Linked DNA regions of Homo sapiens: all the other regions are linked to region 1. The links are contacts of gene promoters, found by promoter capture Hi-C in blood cells and fetal thymus (Javierre and others, 2016). All regions are on one chromosome and are shown on one strand. The core of a region is centred on a gene start or on the middle of the fragment in contact, and the rest is flanking DNA. Distances in the headings are between cores, read along the strand shown. Region 1 holds the start of TMX4 (thioredoxin related transmembrane protein 4). Region 2 overlaps MKKS (MKKS centrosomal shuttling protein). Region 3 overlaps MCM8 (minichromosome maintenance 8 homologous recombination repair factor).

Region 1 (3,713 bases), core at 608-3,107:
AGCTGGGCTGTGAGAGGCATTGTGTATCATGCTAAGTGAAGTTAACTTTAGTATAAGAAAAATAGACATTACAGCGTATTGTTGCCTCCAAATAATAATATTAGTGTTGGCAATATTGTGGCAAAAACCACAATTATGTTTGCACCAACCTAATATGTAAGCTTTTTGAGTTAGAATATGTGCTAGGCATTATTCTTATCTCATATAATCTTCACAGCCACCTTTTGGAGCAGGTTCTATTACTACCCGCATTTTAAGAGAACTTTGGTGTGGACTAGTTTTAGCCCCAAATCACATGGCTAGGAAGTGTCAGGGCTAAGATGCCAATCATGGTCTGACAGCAACAGGTCCCTTACCCTGGTCTGTGACTCCTTACGGCAAGGTCAGTCCCATACTTCCTTGCTACTTTCTTCCTACCATCCTTAGTCTGAAGGCTAAGACTTCAGTTTTTGTTAAAGATAGGAAATGCTTTGGTAATGGCTGTCTTTCATGCTGAAGATGCTCTCTCTCCTTTTAGCTTTTCATTTTGTAAATTTTCCAACATATGCATGAGTAGGTAAAGTAGCAAAATGAACTTAGCTTCAACACTGACTGATGTTGCACCACTTTTCTTTCACCTATCTTCTTTCCATTCCCTACATTTTATTTCTGGAGCATTGTAAAACAAATTCTACACATCATTCTATCATGAAAGTGATAAAATGACAGAATTCCTGTTTATGAGTCACTTCTTTTTACAAGCACAGTAAAATGTTTTCCATTGAGTTTATGGAATTGATATGTATGTACTTAATAACAGTGAGTCTTAGTAGCATTCATTGCAAAGACATTTTCTTAAATTTCAATAGTTTGTAAACCCTTGAGTGTTTTATTTTAATGATAAGGGCTAGGTCCACATAGTTTTTAGCTAATACTAATTAATGCATAATGCAGGCCAGATCTTCTCTTCAGGCAAAATTAACTTCCCTCTCCTATAAGTATTGATTGAAATTTGCTCTCATGTGCCCTGAAGTACTTTTAGTCTTATTGCTGTCTTTGTTTTAAGCCGAGGGCAGAAACCACATCCTTTTCATGGTCTATTAACCACATTACCGAGGTTCATGGTTTGCACAACTAGTAAACACATACAAAGCACCCTTTGAGAAAGCTTCCTCATCCTTTAATTGTAATCCAGTCTTATATATTAACGGTGTGGTGGTCCCAAGGTACAGATTCATCTAATGTGACCTGGAAAGAAATTTGGAAATCACTTAAGGCTACCCTCATTTTAGATCTGACAAAACTGTAGTCAAGAGAAATGTGAGGTCCATTTTACTGCAGGTGGCAATAGTCTTAATTGACTCATTTTATCGGCTAGTACCCATGTTTTTAAGAGTTTCTATGAAATTAACATTTTTTGTAAAAAAAATGCAATTGCATAGGCTAGTTTCATCAATATCCTAAATTAGTGATGCTTCAATATACACATGCAGAGTACTTAAATTTTCCTCTCTCTTCAGCAGGAGATACTCACCACGTCCCTCCATTTTTCATTAAACATACGTGTACCTTGCAGCCCGTTGCTTTTATATTTGCTATCATTGAAGAGGGGATGGATTTTAAAATTACTGGCCATGTTTCCCTTTAGAGAAGCCCACACGCGCCAACCCTGCCCTTATTGGAGCCTGGGCAGCAGCGGTGCATGTTCTAACTTAGGCAACGTTGGGTCATCTGTTTATTGTCAGCTTGGCGGTCAGGAAGAAAGGGCGGTGGTTGCTGAGGTAACCGACACCCCGGGCAACGGCAAGTGGAGGCGGGAGGGGGCGTGGCCTCGACGGGCAAGCGGCGATAAGAGGTGGCGTCCTCCGCGGCATTGCGAGCACCGCCAGTCTGCGCCGCTAGGCGTAGGCGGGGTGGCCCTTGCGTCTCCCGCTTCCTTGAAAAACCCGGCGGGCGAGCGAGGCTGCGGGCCGGCCGCTGCCCTTCCCCACACTCCCCGCCGAGAAGCCTCGCTCGGCGCCCAACATGGCGGGTGGGCGCTGCGGCCCGCAGCTAACGGCGCTCCTGGCCGCCTGGATCGCGGCTGTGGCGGCGACGGCAGGCCCCGAGGAGGCCGCGCTGCCGCCGGAGCAGAGCCGGGTCCAGCCCATGACCGCCTCCAACTGGACGCTGGTGATGGAGGGCGAGTGGATGCTGAAATTGTGAGTGTGCCCGCCCGCCCCGGACGCCGCAGTGTCCTCGCGGGCGTCACCCTCCCAAGCCCGCGCGGCCCGGTGGCGATCCCGCATTGCCGCTTGGGCTCAACCTAAAACCCCGGACCAGGCTTGCCAACAACCTGCGGCGCCGGTGCCGGGCCGCTTGCGATCCTGCACTGCCGCTGGGCTCGACCTGGGGTCCGCGGACCCGCCTTACCAACGACCTGCGGCTGTGGGGCCCGGCCGCTCGCGCCGCGCATGCGCGCCGAGCCCTCGCGGTGACAGCCGAGGGTGCAGCGCGTCCCCTTGCTTTGGGGGACAGTGTTTTCGGGGTGGAGTGGGCAGCTTCCCATAGGGAGGAGAAGGGAAGGAAGAAAATCTGCAAGCAAACCGTGTGCTTTTAGATACAGATATGTATTGGAAGAGAAAGGACATTCAGTGACATCCACGTGCAGTATGAATACGTAGCACAGGCTAAGCAAGTTACCTGTTGAAGAAATTGCAGCACGGTGAAGGCAGGCCATTTGTGTCGTAGTCTTCCGTTTGAAGACCTGGAGATGTCATTGTGAGAATAAAACATAAATATGGATGCCTTTTAAATTTTACAGTATGATTTCAAATAAATGTTGATACTTATTATAACTTGTAAAGGTAGGACTTTCTGAGTAATATTAATAATTGTGCCATAAAGAAAAGAAGATACGCATTGCCCCTTTTAACAATAGAAAGCAAATGGTGGATAGTGCCTTTTCTTTAAGGAGATGGGAAACTACAGTTTTGAGTTAGGAGAAAGAAAGGGATTTGTTGATTATAGTTTAACCTTATAATAGGAAGTGACCATTTGAAAGAGGCTTGCAGTGGATGGTGGGCAGATGTCTGAGCGGGCTTGAGAGACCATCATGGTGGGCTTGCAGACTCTCTCTCTCTCTCTCTCTCTCTCTCTCTCTCTCTCTCTCTCTCTCCCCCTCCCTCCCTCCCTCCCTCCCTCCCTCCCCCTCTCTCTCTCTCTCCTCTCTCTCTTCTCTCTCTCTCTCTCTCCCTCCCTCCCTCCCTCTCTCTCTCTCTCCTCTCTCTCCTCTCTCTCTCTCTCTCTCCCTCCTCTCTCTCTCTCTCTCTCTCTGTCTCTCTCTCCCCTCCCACAACTCCTTTCCACCCTACCTGCCCCCCTCCCGCCCCCACCCCCCAAACATAAAATCTTTCAGGAAATTGCCACATCTCTTTAGCCTGTGGTTTCTGGCAATCTGTATACTACTATTGAATCTTTGTTTTACGTTGAGGACACAGACAGAAAATTGGATCTTTCCTTTATCCAAGACCAAGTTTTGATTCTTTCAATTTAAATTGCAAGCAGGTGCCTATGGAGTGAAAACCTCAGTGTGAGATCAGAGCCAAAATTTATGTCACACAGCAGATTACATTGCTCGAAGAACATAAGGCATATCACCCCTTCAAATGTGCATTTACCTCTTAGTCACAAAGAAGGGGATATTTTAGACCTCCAAATGAAATACCCTTGGTATCATAATAAATCAATGAAAT
Region 2 (3,713 bases), core at 681-3,180, 2.4 Mb before region 1:
GAGCATCTGGATTTGGGTATCCATCATGGGTCCTGGATGCAATCCCCCAAATACTGAGGGGTGATTGCACATTGATATTGAGCAAGATGTTTCTAGATTGTCCTAGGTTGGGTTTCCTGAGAATCAGACTCTGAGGAGATTTAGAGGCAGGACATTTACTAGAGAAGACTTTTTGGATGATTACCAAGGAAGAAAGGAAGCAGGATTGGGCAATAGAAAAAGTTAAGCTGCAGTGAAGTCTCAAGGATGTTCTCCACCAGTCCCACAGGAACTCTAGTGCTGGGTTGGCCCTTCAAAGTTGAAGAGAAGGGCCAGGCTTTTATACCCCTTGATTGATCTGTCGTTAGATGTCTGTTTCCCTGGAAAGGGCCTAACTTCAACTCTCTTCAGCCAAGTCAATCATGGACGGAGGCTGGCAGCCGAGGTCTGTCTCAGCTCTTCCAGGAGCTGGGGAAATAAGCCTTTCATTCCTTAGGGGGGTCAGGGTGGCACATCACAGCATTCATCACAAAGGTAGGGCTTTGAAGGAATCACGTGCTAGAGAATAATGGGGAGGGAGAGGGAAAACACTTTAGGTTGAGTGCTGAGAGAAAGGCTCTCTGAGTAGGTGACATCTGAACTAAGAGCTGAAGCAGAAGAATAAGCCATCCTCTGTGGACCAAAGGGGACAAGATTCTCTACTTTTCTGCTACGCACTAGGAATATAGCAGAGAAGACAAGTGGCTGCTACCTTCTGTTATCGTGGGTGGCAGTGACTAGTTTTTCTAGATCTTGACTCCCTGCCGTAACTAAAGATGGAGTAAGTAAAAATGGATTGAGACTAATTCAGAGGAGGATAGAGGAAAAAATGAGAACTATGATTTTGAAAAATGAGTCAACTTGGTAAAGACTTTATGCAGTTTTTTGTGCGGGTTTGGTTTGGTTTGGTTTGGTTTGGTTTGGTTTGGTTTGGTTTTTTGACCCTATACAGCATTGAGTTATGTTTTATTAAGATTGTCCCATTATCTTCTCAAACCTGTATTCTCCTTGAGGACAAGAATCATGCCTTACTCTTCTTGGTAGTTCCCCCCTGAGGCTAGTAGTCTTGCTAGCACCTAATAGACACTAAGTGAGCATTTGGATAGAATTAATCTTGTACATATTTGAAGTGAAAATTGCTAATCCCTAAATATTGTGAATGTGGGATACATGACTGTGTTTGGATTTGTCTTTACAGTATTTCCTCACCTTATAAGTTGGAACCCAATTTTAGTCAAAATATTCGATGATAATATATAATTGCTTTGATCAAGCAGGAACCTCCAGGGGTGCCTATTTTTATATATGATTCGTATAAGATAATATACTCCCAATAAAAGTAATGGCTGCCGTGTATTGAGCACTTCCCACATGCTAGGCACTGTACTAAGCTATGAATGTATATAGTTCTCTTCATAATGTGGCCCCCTATTTCAGATCATGACATTGAGGCAGGAGAGAAGTAATTTGTCCAAGACCATAACTAATTTGTGGTGGAGGTTAGACTTTGATTCTCGCCATTACTCAATGCTTTTGCTCTTATGTAAAACGTTGTTTCAGACCAACAGCGTGTCTGAAAATGTCGACCAAGTTTCAGTCATTGTAGGATTCTCACATTTGATCACTTGGCTGCTCTATTAACTGTTATTAGAGAAACATACATGAAATTTTTCACCGTCTTTGCTTCTTTGCTCTGTATCAGTTTTCTGACTTCCTTCACAGCTTTCCTGGCTCTCACTTTAGAAGCTTGACAGTTATCTGTCCTATAATATCCTAGAATCTAATTACCAGATTCACTACCCTAGTCAAACCCCAAAGACCTCTGAACCTCTCTGTTGAGACTGGGTATTTTTATTCTTAGCTAACTAACTGAAACTGCCCAGAGAAGTGGGCCTTCCTTTATGGGGACCACTTCCCTTAGTTTGGGCATTAATTCTAATCCTCTCCAGTTCTTGCTATACTACAGGTTAATTCCAGTAATGTTTTTTTTCTTTTTGACATAATCAAAATAATAATAGCTAACAATTACTGAGCCCAGACAAAGTGCCAAGTATTGTGATAACTGCACAGCAAGCTTATGATATGGATGTTATTATTCACATTGTACACACAATGGAACTGAAGCACAATGAGATTAAGTGACTAATCCAAGGCCACACAGCCAGTTGTAAAGTGGTAAGTGAAGATTCAAAGCCAGGTGGTATGAGTCCACAGCTCATCCCTTAATCACTACATGACAATGCATTCTTACAAAAATGATTTAAAGTGCTTGACTTTCTGAAAACTGGTAGGCAGGATCTAGATCCTAGTGGATTTTTCTTTCTGCTGTACTAAGAAATTTAGATTTCACTCTAGTCAAAAATGTCACTAAAGGCTTTTAAGCAAAGCAGGAATACAACCAGATTTGTTTTTGTTTTTGTTTTTTTGTTTTTTGTTTTGCAAGATGGCTATATTAAAAGTGTAGAGAATGGATTAGTGGATGTAGACTAGAACAGTGGGTCTCAAACTTTAGCTTCAGAATTACCTAAAGAATTAATTAAAACACAGATTACTGGACCCCACCCTAGAGTTTCTGACTCAGTAGGTCAGGAGGGGCAGCTTGATAATTTGCATTTCTAGTAAATTCCCAAGTGTTGCTAATGGCACTGTTGAGAGGACCACAGTTTGAGAACTACTGGAATTGAAGCAAGGAGGTCATGTGAGGGCGCGAGGGTCTGGACTGTGACCCTAGGGAGGAGGGATTATGTAAAGAAACACTTATGTCAAATGGCAGGATGTGCTGAGTGAGTTGATGAGGAGCATGAGGAAAAGGGCAGAGTCCAGTATATCCAGATTTCTGAATTGAATGGCTTAGTAGATGATGCTTTTTGTTAACGAAACAGGAAATCCAGGTGGAACAGCAGTTTGGGAGGGAAAGAGGACTTATTTTTATATGAGATGAATTGAGACTATTTGTGGGGACGGTTAGTTCAAAGGTGTACAGTAGCAGTTTATTATGTGGGTCTAAGCTGGAGATGAACGTGTGAGAGCCAGAGTGGATGCATGATCATAGAAGTTTGGGGATTGAATGAGACCGCCCAGGAAACAAACACTACCAAAGACAGATCTTTGATAAGGATGAATAGGTGGATGGAAACCAGCAGGCTATTAAAGGAGACTAAGAAGGAACAGTATAGAGTCCTGAGTACTTAGGAGTCTCAAGAACACATCAAAAGGCTACAGGGAGATTATGTAAGGGGAAGGATTGGTGATCTTTATGGTCAGAACACTTTCCATGGAGAATGAAACAAAAGCAGATTGCTTGGGTTTGAAGATGGAATGGGAAGTGACTAGGAAAAGATGCATTATTTGAAAGGAAAGAGATTGTGTAGTACTGGGAAGGAAGATGGTAAAGGGCAGTTGCCTTAGGGAATTTGTTTTTGACTCTTTTCAGTGGAGAAAAATAGTCATAGTTATGCAAAAGAGAAAGGCCCTTAAGAGTGGAAGGTTGGAGGTAGATGAGAGGGGATAATGAAGTTAGAACCCCAAAGACACAGTAGAAAGTGGGACTGGAACACAGGTAATAGGAATACCAGTTCTTCTGACAGCAGGCAAGGAGTTTTATTTATTTATTTATTTATTGAGACGGAGTCTTGCTCTGTCACCTAGGCTGGAGTGCAATGGCGCGATCTCGACTCACTGTAATGTAACCTCTG
Region 3 (3,713 bases), core at 656-3,155, 2.1 Mb after region 1:
GCATGTGTGTGCAAACATTAAAAAAGTTTAGACAAAAGTATGCATAAGACAAATAGTTACCTGATGTATTGCCAAACCCATGCAAGCCAAGGTTTTCTCAGGTGCATCTCTTAGTTCAGTTGCTATATCTGGTATCAAGTTAGTTACTTCACCACCTTCTGTCAGTTCTTTAAAATCTACCAAAATACTTCCCTTTCTTTCTATTTCATCCTATAAAATATAAAAGTATGAAAACAATAATTGCTTTTCTGTAGTCAATTACCATTAACTGAGCATTCTATTATAGACTTTGAGAAAGCATACAATGTTTATATGTGATAATGGTAAGTATGACATAAGTATAAGCTTTGTGCCAAGCATGGTTCTGATATTTTAAATATATTAATGTATTACTGCCTCTTAACAATCCTTTGAGGTAGGTATTTATACCTCTATCTCCAAATGAAAGAAAACTGAGGCACAGAGAAGTAATTAATCAAAGTCCATACTGCAGGTAAGTGGCAGAACTGAGGTCTGAACCAAGGAAGTCTGACTCCAGTGCCTACGATCATAATCACAAGTACCTCGAATACATTGGTAAGATGGCACATGACTGGTAGCTTTGCTGTAGAGGAATCTTACCTTGTCATACAAATCAATATGCCTTGTGAAAAATTTTTCAAATGCTTGAATCTTCTCAATCAAAGGAGAGCTATCGCTGTAAACTAATCCAACAAATATGGCATTAGCACAAATAATCACACAGGTACATGCACATTTTTCATGAGACAAAAGCAGCACTATATACATGGTAGATGATTTTTTTCTAATTGCTTTGTATTTTGATTACATTCATATAAGAACTAGTATAGAATGTAAACTTAAGATTCTAAAACAAATTTAGGTTTGCATAATGTGAAATGCAGACAGAAACTCTCTCTCTCTAAAAGCCCCACTATCTGGGAAACTTTGTTTTGCATCTTTGACACCTAATAGGACATGTTAGTTCAGATAATTTAGACAATAAGCTTAAACTAAAAATTATAATAAAGCCAAAGCCAGACACATAAACTAAGCTCTTACTCTGACAGAGCTGAAGACAATCACAATCACAGTCTTTCCTGAGATCAGGAGACAGACCAACACTTGACCCTGGTGGCAAAACTGAAAAGCCTTTTTTTTTTTAACACTCTAAAGTTCTACATTTTCAAATATGTCTCTCACAGAAGAACAGTACAATAAAGTAGTTTGGAAGCACAGATGGTGAAGGCTAAGGCACCTCTTGAACTCCATCTTTAGGACTGTCCAAAGATCACTTATAGTGTTCTGAGCTATCTGCTAGGGGAGCAATGGGAGTGCTGGTGGCTAATACATCCTAAAGGAACAAAAGATCATTCATGAAACAGATTCTATTGATGGAAAAAAACGAACAGATTTCCAATAAAGAAAACATTTGTAAAGTACTCTATTCATTCACAAAATGACTACTGCATGCCTGGTATGGGGCAGGGAGGGTCCTGGACCTCAAACGTCTAGTTTTCCTAAAAAAAAAAAGTATGCGGCTGGGTGCGGTGGCTCACGTCTGGAATCCTAGCACTTTGGGAGGCCGAGGCGGGCGGATAACGAGGTCAGGAGATCAAGACCATCCTAGCTAACACGGTGAAACCCCGTCTCTACTAAAAACAGAAAAAATTAGCCGGGCGTGGTGGCGGGTGCCTGTAGTCCCAGCTACTCGGGAGGCTGAGGCAGGAGAATGGCGTGAACCTGGGAGGCAGAGCTTGCAGTGAGCCAAGATCGCGCCACTGCACTTCAGCCTGGGCAACAGAGCAAGACTCCATCTCAAAAAAAAATAAAAAGTATGCACACACACACACACACACACACACACACACACCCCTCATGAGACATAAGAAACAAATGGGTATTTTAACAGCACAAAAAAGACAGTTCCCTGCACCTATACAGACTGATGTAGGTTAATTGGTATTCCTAATTATCAAAGGGAGATTCCTTACCTGTGTTTCTACACAAAGCTGTATTTGTTATTGTCCCTTGATTTCAGGCCCACTGTTCTACTTCCTGCTCTGCGATGCTATAATTCAGATCTGTACCCTACATGTCTCAGATTCTCTTTAAATTCTGCCAATTGAAGGCACTTTAGAGACGGGAAGGTGGCAGGAAGAGAAAGGAATTTATTCTTGTTTCCAACTCTTTTCAGCATCTCTGCAGCTGCAGAAGATAACGATAGTGCTAGCCTCCAGTTCCAAGCACCACTGAGTCATGCCCCCTCAGTTACCAGTGGCAACCAGCTTCATTTGCCTTAGTGGTCTAAGCACAGCTCTGTAAGGTAGCCTTCAGAAGTCCAAGCATAGCTTTGTAGGGTGCCCCTCAAAAGTCAAAATAACAGCTATGCTGTGACCTCTCCAACCTTTGAATTCCCACATTCTGGTAACCTCAGAACTTCTTTTAGTCTCTTAGCCATAAGGATGGTTGCTGCTTCCTGAATTACTACTTTCTGGGGAGTTACCTCAATATTTCCTTTCTGCTCTTTCAGTCTTCCATTTTTGTATCCAATTTCTTGTATTAAGTCCCCTTTTTGAAATACCTAGTATGGTTTCTGCTTTCCTGACTGATATAAAGTCTAAAATGCTTTTGAAACATAAACATCATTTAATTGTTTGGGTGAACTAAGATTAAAGCAGGTATATGTTAGTAAATGAATTACAGTAATACAAGATGTAGCATCCAAAGACAAGTTAAGAAAATATGATTTATGGTGCTTTTTTGTACTTTTTAAACCCTACCTTCAGAGAAATAAAGCTTCCAGCCTTTATATGGTATGAATCGATCCAATGTTGACTGCATTGACTGTGGGGTCTTTGTTGAAAGCAAAAACTGTGGGGTTTGTTCTGAAAAAAATAAAATACTAGGTTAGTAGAAACAGAGTGAACATTTTTCCAATATGCTTCTCTTTCCAAATGAGACTCTCATTAATAGAGTATCCAAATTAGGGGTTTTAGTAAAAATCTGGGACATCAATGTTCAAATACTTACTAAGGAGTAGCATGAAATAAAAGACAAACTGAAGTATGAGATAAACCGCCTTGTATGATAGACGTGAATTGCTTCCTTAAGTGAAAAAAATTGAACAATCATTGACCTCACCTACCAGAAGTACGTTTTCCTGTGGTTTTACTCAGATCAGGTCTGTGTTCTCTTTCTCTCCATTTTCCTGAGAAGTTCCCACCACCTCTTCCCCTTTTCCAGCTTTGAAATCTTCCTCGTCCAAATCCTCTGCCTCTATACTCTCCATTCATCTCTCCTAAAAGATAGATATTAAAAAGGTCTTCACCAAAACTGTAAGGAAAATAGTGCTCTTAAAAATGTATTAATAAAAAGGGAAAAATTAATGTATTCTAGGTTCAAGAGTAGCAAACAGGCTTGCAAAGTTGTACAGCTATGATACAAGACCCAAATATTCTGCAGTTAAGTTTCTAATCTCTATCGCTTTTTAAGGTATACCATAATAGTTTAATAACTATTAAATATGGTTTACGTATACTAGACGCTCACAGGTTAAAAATAAGGACAGGTACTGTACCTGTTTACAAGTCCCCATTACAGAAATGAAAATAGGACAGGTAATTAACTCTATGAAAACTTATTTGCAGTATTTGAGACTTCTTATTATAGGGCAGGACAGGATGAACATAATTCTGGCCTGTGAGACACTA

Evidence for each region. The method cuts DNA at HindIII sites, captures the fragments that hold promoters and counts their contacts. A CHiCAGO score of 5 or more calls a contact.
Region 2: a fragment that was not itself captured here is called in contact with the fragment with the promoter of TMX4 in region 1 in 1 of 17 cell types (total CD8 T cells); the score reaches 5.2 in total CD8 T cells.
Region 3: a contact is called between a fragment that was not itself captured here and the fragment with the promoter of TMX4 in region 1, in 1 of 17 cell types (total B cells). The highest score is 6.5, in total B cells.

What each region holds. Positions count from the first base shown.
Region 1 is chr20:8,017,905-8,021,617 of GRCh38, reverse strand. TMX4 (thioredoxin related transmembrane protein 4) reads left to right here and starts at 1,857. Exons shown (of 8, transcript NM_021156.4): 1 at 1,857-2,180. The coding sequence starts at 2,005. It overlaps TMX4-AS1 (TMX4 antisense RNA 1), which reads right to left and starts at 1,712. Exons shown (of 7, transcript NR_184034.1): 1 at 1,514-1,712; 2 at 357-1,227. RefSeq lists silencers at 1,857-2,096, 2,207-2,346. The HindIII fragment of the contact is 3,626 bases long and covers 1,150-3,713 here.
Region 2 is chr20:10,428,770-10,432,482 of GRCh38, reverse strand. All of the region lies in intron 1 of MKKS (MKKS centrosomal shuttling protein), which reads left to right. The region is part of intron 1 of LOC128706665; the gene reads left to right. The region is part of intron 1 of LOC128706666; the gene reads left to right. Among named protein-coding and RNA genes, the nearest start is that of MKKS, 3.6 kb to the left of the region's middle. RefSeq lists an enhancer at 365-866. The HindIII fragment of the contact is 328 bases long and covers 1,767-2,094 here.
Region 3 is chr20:5,951,599-5,955,311 of GRCh38, reverse strand. MCM8 (minichromosome maintenance 8 homologous recombination repair factor) reads right to left here. Exons shown (of 19, transcript NM_032485.6): 2 at 3,149-3,301; 3 at 2,784-2,888; 4 at 622-704; 5 at 61-210. The coding sequence starts at 3,296. Among named protein-coding and RNA genes, the nearest start is that of MCM8, 2.8 kb to the right of the region's middle. The HindIII fragment of the contact is 1,792 bases long and covers 1,010-2,801 here.